Regions from separate parts of the Homo sapiens genome. Here region 1 is linked to region 2. The links are contacts of gene promoters, found by promoter capture Hi-C in blood cells and fetal thymus (Javierre and others, 2016). All regions are on one chromosome and are shown on one strand. Each heading gives the region's core, a stretch centred on a gene start or on the middle of the fragment in contact. The rest is flanking DNA. Distances are from core to core; before and after follow the strand shown. Region 1 holds the start of LEMD3 (LEM domain containing 3). Region 2 holds the start of MON2-AS1 (MON2 antisense RNA 1).

Region 1 (4,748 bases), core at 1,820-4,319, 2.7 Mb after region 2:
CACACATGGAGCTTATTATAGTCCAAAAGGATAGGACAATAAATAATTTTGAAAGTAAACAAATATTTATTAATAACTGATAAATAACTATTGGTTGGAAAGGTGCTAAGAAGGAAATAAATAGGATCATGTGTTATGTCTCTGAGAGTCTTAGAATGAAGCAGACAAGCTCTTTCACTTTCAAGTGCTGACGTAGTAAAGTCATTAGGTTTCAAAAAAGGAAAAAAAGATAATATCTTACAATTAACTAATGAATGAACAGCCATTACGCTAGAAGAAAATTGTATTGTGATTGGTGTACTCCGTATCTTCTCAGAATGAGAGAGGTGAGGCTTCTCAAAAAGAGCAGCGAGAGAAAGTCACTTAAAAATTTTTTTTTTTTGGTAGGTCAAGCTAAAGACGAACTGAAAATAGACAACCTGAAGTCAGACGGGAAAGCTGCCAATCTAGTCTGGCCAGCAGAATTTCTTTCAGTAGGTCTAGGCTCCCTCGGCATTGGGAATCCAGATGTAAAGAAAACTTACGCCATAAACTTCAAGGTAGATTTCAGTTATTACTGCCCGGTGGCAGGAACCTAGGAAGGTGAGGTCAAGGTGTGGTTTAGTAAGAGACAGCTCCCGGGAACGGCACTTGGAAGGGCAGGGCGGAGAACAGCTGGAGATGAGATAGAGAGCAGGGGGAGAATGCGCCGACACCTCAAGGTGAGAGAGTAGAAACAGTCTCCGCCGTGGGAGCCGCGCGCTGCTCAGGTGGCTCTTTCCCGCTCAGGTGAGCTCCTCCCGCGCCTCCCATTGGCCGAGATGCCCGCGGCGCTGGGAGGGCGACGCAGCGCGGTCTAGTTCAGGGTCTAGGGCGGCGCGTCACTTCCGGTAGCGCGGAGCTTGTAAAACACCCTGGAGAGAAAATGGCGGCGGCAGCAGCTTCGGCGCCTCAGCAGCTCTCGGATGAGGAGCTTTTCTCTCAGCTCCGCCGTTACGGCCTGTCTCCCGGACCAGTGACGGAGAGCACCCGCCCGGTCTACCTCAAGAAGCTGAAGAAGCTTCGAGAGGAAGAGCAGCAACAGCACCGGTCAGGGGGCCGCGGCAACAAGACGCGGAACAGTAATAACAATAACACGGCAGCCGCCACGGTCGCAGCCGCGGGACCAGCGGCGGCGGCGGCCGCGGGGATGGGGGTCCGGCCGGTCTCGGGCGACCTCTCCTACTTACGGACTCCTGGGGGCCTGTGCCGAATCTCGGCCTCTGGCCCAGAGAGCCTCCTGGGAGGGCCCGGGGGCGCCTCCGCCGCCCCCGCGGCTGGCAGCAAAGTGCTGCTGGGCTTCAGCTCGGACGAGTCGGACGTGGAGGCCAGTCCCCGGGACCAGGCCGGCGGCGGCGGGAGGAAAGACCGGGCTTCGCTCCAGTACCGCGGGCTCAAAGCGCCGCCGGCGCCCCTGGCCGCCAGCGAGGTGACTAACAGCAACTCTGCAGAGCGAAGGAAGCCCCACTCGTGGTGGGGGGCCAGGAGGCCGGCGGGCCCCGAGCTGCAGACCCCGCCGGGGAAAGATGGAGCAGTGGAGGACGAGGAAGGGGAGGGAGAGGACGGTGAGGAGAGGGACCCGGAGACCGAGGAGCCGCTCTGGGCGAGCCGGACCGTGAATGGCAGCCGGCTTGTCCCCTACAGCTGCCGGGAAAACTATTCGGACTCAGAGGAAGAGGACGACGACGACGTGGCCTCCAGCAGACAGGTATTAAAGGACGACTCCCTTTCCCGGCATCGGCCCAGACGAACCCATAGTAAGCCTCTCCCCCCGCTGACTGCTAAATCGGCCGGCGGCAGGCTGGAGACTTCAGTTCAGGGAGGGGGAGGACTCGCGATGAATGACAGGGCGGCGGCTGCCGGGAGTCTAGACAGGAGCCGAAACCTCGAAGAGGCGGCGGCCGCGGAGCAGGGAGGAGGGTGTGATCAAGTGGACTCCAGCCCCGTTCCTAGATACCGTGTTAACGCTAAGAAACTGACCCCTCTCCTGCCCCCGCCACTTACTGACATGGACTCAACCTTGGATTCGTCAACAGGCTCCCTTCTGAAAACCAATAATCATATTGGCGGTGGGGCCTTCAGTGTGGACTCCCCCAGGATTTATTCTAACAGTCTCCCTCCCAGTGCGGCGGTGGCCGCCTCTAGTTCACTCAGGATCAATCACGCCAATCATACGGGCTCCAATCATACCTACCTGAAAAACACATACAACAAACCGAAGCTTTCCGAACCCGAAGAGGAACTTCTCCAGCAATTTAAACGGGAGGAGGTGTCCCCAACAGGGAGTTTCAGTGCCCACTACTTGTCGATGTTTCTCTTAACTGCTGCCTGCTTATTTTTCCTAATACTGGGACTGACTTACCTAGGAATGAGAGGGACAGGAGTATCTGAGGATGGAGAACTCAGCAGTAAGTATTAAATCCTGTGGGTAAGGTAACAAAGAGAATGTTGTTAGTGGTCCGCTTTAGCCGCGCTTAGCGTTTTACATGAAGTGACTTACCTGCAAGAATATGGTTTAACAGCAAAAACGCAACAGTGCGTGCATGTGTCATCTTTCTTAAAGAACACCATTATCGAAATGATGTCATATGGCTGGTTTTAAAAGTTTTCTGCATGATGTATTGTGAAATTCAAAACAATTTTTAAAAGAATATTATAAGCTTGTTAGTAAAACTCATTTGTATATGTGACAATTCTCTTTTAGCCCTGAAAGACTATTTGCGCAGATGCCAGTTACTTAACAAATTTGAAGTATTAGGATAAGGCACATTATAAATGTAGTGTTTTTCCAAATTGAGTTGTGATTCTAATAGGCAATGTAATAGCTCTTGAAATTCGAATTATTTTATAATATTAACTGTATGCATAAATTCGGATTAAATATTTTGTGGTATTAACTGTATGTATAATTTCTTTATAGTGAATGAATATAAAAAAGCAGCAAGGCACACCTCTTAATTTATTTCCCAGCCCAAAGCACTTTCCCTATCATCTGTACAAAAAGTAGTGGTAGGGCAGTGCAGGAGCTTGCAGTCAGATTTCCTTGGATTGGTTTCCAGGTCCTACTATTTACTTGCTAAATGACTGTAGGCAGGTGTGTTCATTGTCATAATCAAAGTATCTCTGCCCTTAAACACAAAAAGAAGATGAATACAGACCATTTTGTGTTCTCTGAAGGAAATAAAGATGAGTAATTGGCGTACACAACTTTATTTTTTTTCCTTTTTTAAAAAAATTTACCAGACTACACTGACGTAGGTGTACACTACTTTAGATTGAACGGAGGAGGTACTATTTGAGGTGAGACCTGAAGCAGAAGGAGACAGCCTTGTGGAGAAACAGTAGACCATTCTGAGCAGAGATTAAGGCCTTGAGTTGAGCAAGAGCCTTCTTGTAGGTTAGAGTGGTTAAGCACCTTGAGCAAAGGGGAGAGAGTCAGAGTTAAAGCTTCTGAACTTTCCTAATCTATAAGATGAGGCCTCTATTGACTAGAATGTTTGTGAAGATTAAAAGAGAAAGTAAATTAGGACAAAATGGACTTCTGAATACATAATTTCTCAGTGTTAGGTCCCTCTCTGCATTCTCCCTGAAGGCTTCCTACTCTTTTCACCCAAGATGAATTCACTGTATTTTTATTTGTATTTATAAAATTGGCTTATTAGTTTTATTTCAAAATAGAGTGAAAGATGCAGTTAGCCAACTCAGATAAAGAGTAGGAGTCAAAATAATGTAAGCTTAGATTTAGATATAGCCAATTCCGAGACAGTCAAATAATAGATTTTTACTCTGTTGCTTAATTACAGGGGTTGAAACAAGAATGAAATTCAGCTCTCACTTTAGTTTATTCCCTGGGAGCATGAGTGTATTGTGTCCTGCCCCAAATATTTGGGAGAAAAAAAATAAGGGCACACTAGAAGTTAAACAAGTAAAAGTTCACATAAATTAAATGACATTACCTATCAGCAGTAGCTATCTGCATCTGTGTCTCTAACAACTATAAGATCTGGCCTTTTTCTTTTCTTTTTTTTTTTTTTTAGACAGAGTCTAGCTCTGTCGCTAGGCTGGAGTGCAGTGGCACAATCTCTGGTCACTGCAACCTCCGCCTCCTGGGTTCAAGTGATTCTCCTGCCTCAGCCTCCCAAGTAGCTGGGACTACATGCGCGTGCCGCCACACCTGGCTAAATTTTTTTTGTATTTTTAGTAGAGACAGGGTTTCACCATGTTAGCAGATCTGGCCATTTTCTAAGAGCTAATTGCTTTACACCTATTGTACCATCTAATCTTCCCAGCAACTCACAGAAGCAGGTGGTGGTATCCTCATTTTTGGATGAGGATGATACTAAGTTAAGAAATGCACTGAGTGTTGAACAGTTAGTAGTAGGGCTAAGATTTGGTTTCAGATTTTATTTCCAACTAGAAAGACCATTTTAACACTGTTTTGGTTATTGTTTGTAGAGAGCTTTCTAAATAAGTGGGTACCTTTATTATGATTAAGAAAGTAATTGACTATTTGGTAGGATTTCATACAGAATTATTGATAAGCACAATTCTCAGTTAAGGTGACTTTCACATCTTTCTCATCAGTGTTAAGATGAATGACTAATGTGGTGTACTAAAAGTTCAGGTAGAATAGGATAGGAATGCTAGGATTTTGGTACTCTTCACCTTCACTGATAAGGAAGGAAGGAAATTATATTTACATTTTAGTAAATGGTAAATGTGAAGTAATC
Region 2 (4,613 bases), core at 749-3,248:
GGATCACTTGAGCCCAGTAGTTTGAGGCTGCTGTAAGCCATGATTGTGGCATTGCACTCCAGGCTGGGCAGTACAGCAAGATCCTGTCTCTAAAAAAAAGGGGAAAAAAAGTAAAAAGAAACAGACATTTAATTTTAATAATAATTTAACGTAATAATTTGAAATATTATTTCAACATGTAGTCAGTATAAATATTTAGGGGATAGGTTATATTCTTTTTTTTAATACTAAGTCTTCAAAACCTAGTATATATTTTACACTTAGAGCATAGCTCAATTCAGACTGGCCACATTTCAAGTGCTTAATAGCCACATGTAGCCAAATGGCTACCAAATTGGACAGTGCAGTTCTGTGGCATTCTGTAAAATACTATGTGACTTGCCAGTACTGCCCGCTAAACATACTACGGTTAATGAAGTGTTTGGTTATCCATTCTCAAAAAAGAAAACAAAGTAGCTTTTAAAATCCAACACAGGTCTGGGCACGGTGGCCCATGCCTGTAATCCTGGCACTTTGGGAGGCTGAGATGGGTGGATCACTTGAGGTCAGGAGTTCAAGACCAGCCTGGCCAACTAAAAATACAAAAAGTACAAAAATAAAACACTCTACTAAAAATACAAAAATTAGCCAGGCATGGTGGTGGGTGCCTGTAATCCCAGCTACTTGGGAGGCTGAGGCAGGAGAATGGCTTGAACCAGGGAGGCGGAGGTTGTAGTGAGCCAAGATCGTGCCATTGGACTCCAGCCTGGGCAACAAGAGCAAAAAACTCCATCAACAATAAATAAATAAATCCAACACAGTAGTTTTACTTGATTTTGCAGTGTTCTATAATTTTTTTGTGTGTGGTGGAGAGAGAGGAGGCTTGAAATGGGGAAAAGGAGCCTAATTATTTTCAGTAGATTTTGTTTTTGTTTGTTATTTTTATTCTCGGAAAATTTAACTTTGCAGGGGATTGAGGTATTCCAGATAATGCCTTAAGGCAGAGGAAGGCAACATGTTGTAGTGCATTCAGAGTTTGCATGTGAATAATCAAATTAATCATGTTTTATTACATTTAACGTATATGTCACTACTGGGCTTAGTATCTGATGGTTTGAAAATTAAAAAGGTGGTAGGGTAGTGACTGACTTTGTGCTTGATATTTTGTCTATCACATATGACTTATTTTCCATAGATAATTCATTTTGGCAGTAAATTTTGTGTTCTAATTATTTTTATTCTTGCAGGCTGCTGAATCAGGAATAATAAAAGTTAAAACAATTGCTGCACGAAACACTGAAATTTTGGCAGGTAATTTTTTGTATTAAAAATTTAATAATAAACAAAAATTTGACTAATAGTAAAAGTAGAATCTTTATTGTAAAAGCCATCAGTTTTCTGTAACATCTCTTCCTCATGCCCTAACATATGCTATTCATAATGAAACAGAATGGGCAAAAGTCCATAACTTATGAACTGACTGTATTTCCCAGAGACGAATGCTACAAAAATTCTCTGAAATCAGAAAGCTTAACACTACTGACTCCTTAAAGGCAAGGAATTTTTTCTTACTCATCTTCGCATTCTCCTCCACTTCCTGCTAATCACCTGAGACACACCATAAAAAGCATTCAGTAATATTTGTTCCATTGTATTGAATGAAAGATTTGTTCTCAGTCCACCTTCTGTGATCTACTTTCTCTTTAATATAATACGAACAGTTCATAACATAGTCTTCTGTATTTAGTTGTACCGTATGAATTTTGAGTCTTGGGATTAAGGCAGTATGATCATGAAAAAAGAATGAGAGTGAAGTAGAGAAAAGAAAACAAAAATGTTTTCTTACCTTCTCTTGATTGAACCTGATTTTCAAGGAGGAATTTTCAGGAGTTTCTCTTTGGCATCCTTCTTTTCTACCCAGTCCACTCCTTTCTCTTCCTTGGTGCCTTTTGTTCTTGCCTCAATAATGAACATGGAAAAGAGGTAAACTGGCTTTTTTTTTTTTTTTTTTTTAAGAATCTGTTATATGCAAGGCACTTGTGTCATTCTATCTTACATAACAACCTTGTGGGGAAATATTATCTTATTTGATAGTAGAGCTAATTGAGATGTGAAGAGGTTAAGTTACTTGCCCAAGGTCACAGGAAAGGTGATAGAACCAGATTAAAATCCAGGAGTGTTCAGGAGCCCATGTTCTTCCTGCTACAGTGTGCTACCATGGTATCACCAGGTTTCCACGTTAGCCACTTACTCCCAAGTATTACATATGTAACCAGTGCTTGCTTCAGTGATCCTTTAATCTGCATTTCCAGTTCCAGTAGTGCTGTTGATCTCAGCTAATCTATGAGGAAAGTAGTCCTATTAAATTAATTTACAGAGTCCAAATAGTAAATAATCTCTTTAACTTTCATATACTTTACATTTTTTAAAAGGGATACCAGTAAATCTGTAACTGGTGGGATTTCAGAGTGTTATGAAATGAAATTAAGATTTTTGGGGTCAGATTAAGGATCGGGGGCAAGAGTGGATTTCACTTAGGCTATCCAGCTTTGCTGGAAATTTGCCCTTAGCATAAGCGCTCCTCAATTACATCTGTTTCCCACAGCTTTTTCCCTGATTTTGAACAGTCTTATCAAAACACCCAATAGTTTTATAACATTATGCACAGAAGTAAATAATGCTCTGTGTGCATATTGAGAAGTGGTATAGTGAAAGTGGTGGGTAAAGGCAGAGGTGCACATGGTAGGGTTAGGAAGGCTGGCAAGTGGGTTTTTTTTGTTTGTCTGTTTGTTTTTCCTGAGATGGACTTTTGCTCTTGTTATCCCAGCTGGAGTGCAATGGTGTGGTCTCGGCTTACTGCAACCTCTGCCTCCTGGGTTCAAGCGATTCTCCTGCCTCAGCCACCCGAGTAGCTGAGATTTCAGGTGCCCAACACCACATCTGGCTAATTTTTGTATTTTTAGTAGAGACAGGGTTTCATCATGTTGGCTAGGCTGGTCTCGAACTCCTGACCTCGGGGTTCTCCCGCCTCGGCCTCTCCAAGTGTTGGGATTACAGGCGTGAGCCACTGCGCCCGGCCAGCATGTGGGTTTTAATGGGAGATGTACATTAGGCAGATTAGCTACTGTGGGGAAATTGGTGTTTAAAGAAAAATGATGACCTGGATATTTTTATGTTGGAGACTTACCATAGGCCAATCGTATTAGAATATCACTGTAAATATTTAAAATATTTACTGTTGCTAATATCATTGTTGATACCGTGGTAAGTCCTTAATTATTCTCCAATAATACAAATTTTTATTGGTTTTATAGTTTGTGGAAGACTTTTTTTAAAAAAAGACTGATTTCCTCAGAGGATCACTGTTATTCCAGCATTCTATCCCAAGTAAAATGTCTAATAAATTACTCTTAAGATGAGTAAGAAAAATTTTGACTTAGTCGGTATGATTTAAATATATAGGCAGGCTGTTAATTTCATTTTAATTCAATTTGCATTATTCAAATCAAGTTAGAACAGATCTGGTGCAAATACAATTAATAGTCATGTTTTAATCTTCGTAGTATCCAGAGCCCATATACTTGAGGAGGTATATTTGCACTTAAACTTTATCCTAGTATTTTTTCTGAAGTATTTAAAGCAATTATACCTAAAAGTTGTAGATTTATAGACCACTATCATCTTGAAAATCAGAGGCTCTTCAAAACAGAGTTTAAATTAGTCAGTATATAGTTTCTAAACTATATAATTAAGAGTACAGTTAATACTGAGAAAAATTTTTAGTTAACTTTTTAAAATTTCATGAGAAGTATTTACTTCTTTATGGTACTTGAGACTATAGGAGACTATACTACTTTTGTGCTCTAATGTATGTCAAAAATACCAAACAATTGAGGAGTCTCAAATGAGATTGGATATTGAAATCTCATATGTCTCTGTATATTCAGAATATATAAAGATTTGTTGTAAGAATGATAACTTTTAATTTGGATCAAGTAGTTTAATTAATGATACTCGGCATAGATTTCTAGTCAACTTTAGTTTTCTTAGATTTATTTTCCAAGGGAATATTATTTATATTTCAGAATAAGTCTTTGCTTTACATCTCCCCTTCTTTTAAGCATCCTCCTTTAATGTTTATTTTTCTTTGTTTTCACTGCTGTCATGAATGCTGACATAAGTGGGAATGCTATGCCAGGTAATGTCAGCATTGATTCAGATGTACAGATCATTATTTCAAAATTTCCATTTTCTTTAAAAATAAAACTTTGAAAATGAGAGATAGCAACATAAAGTTTTCATTTACAAGGCCAAATACCTTAATCTTACATTTATTATATGAATATTATATATTACAAATTGTGTTTATTATCCTAGCTTATAGTATACTAAAAATTCAGAAATTCTTTGTTATACAAGAATTACATAATCTGCTTTTTGCATAAATTTTTGTAACAAGGAAATCAATGAAGTTGTGGTATCTTTTAACATTGTATATTTAGCCCCTACCCCAAACCGTAGTGGTTACATCTACCTGTGGCTGCTTTCAGCTGCTGTCAGTATACATAAAGAATTTTTACATAAATAATCAGTAGTTGTGACTTTTGTTCTTTTTTCACATGTTGTTCCCTCAT

The links. Contacts are between HindIII fragments. The CHiCAGO score rates a contact against its expected background, and 5 or more counts as called.
Region 1: a contact is called between a fragment that was not itself captured here and the fragment with the promoter of MON2-AS1 in region 2, in 1 of 17 cell types (non-activated CD4 T cells). The highest score is 6.0, in non-activated CD4 T cells.

The regions. Positions count from the first base shown.
Region 1 is chr12:65,168,693-65,173,440 of GRCh38, forward strand. It overlaps LEMD3 (LEM domain containing 3), which reads left to right and starts at 891. Exons shown (of 13, transcript NM_014319.5): 1 at 891-2,426. The coding sequence starts at 905. LOC124902953 (a long non-coding RNA gene) reads right to left here and starts at 724. Exons shown (of 2, transcript XR_007063349.1): 1 at 525-724. RefSeq lists enhancers at 409-468, 654-1,226, 909-1,058, 1,969-2,048 and silencers at 1,179-1,388, 1,772-1,975. The HindIII fragment of the contact is 787 bases long and covers 2,677-3,463 here.
Region 2 is chr12:62,482,944-62,487,556 of GRCh38, forward strand. MON2-AS1 (MON2 antisense RNA 1) reads right to left here and starts at 1,999. Exons shown (of 2, transcript NR_186172.1): 1 at 1,826-1,999; 2 at 1-89. It overlaps MON2 (MON2 regulator of endosome-to-Golgi trafficking), which reads left to right. Exons shown (of 35, transcript NM_015026.3): 2 at 1,227-1,290. The HindIII fragment of the contact is 7,471 bases long and covers 1,507-4,613 here.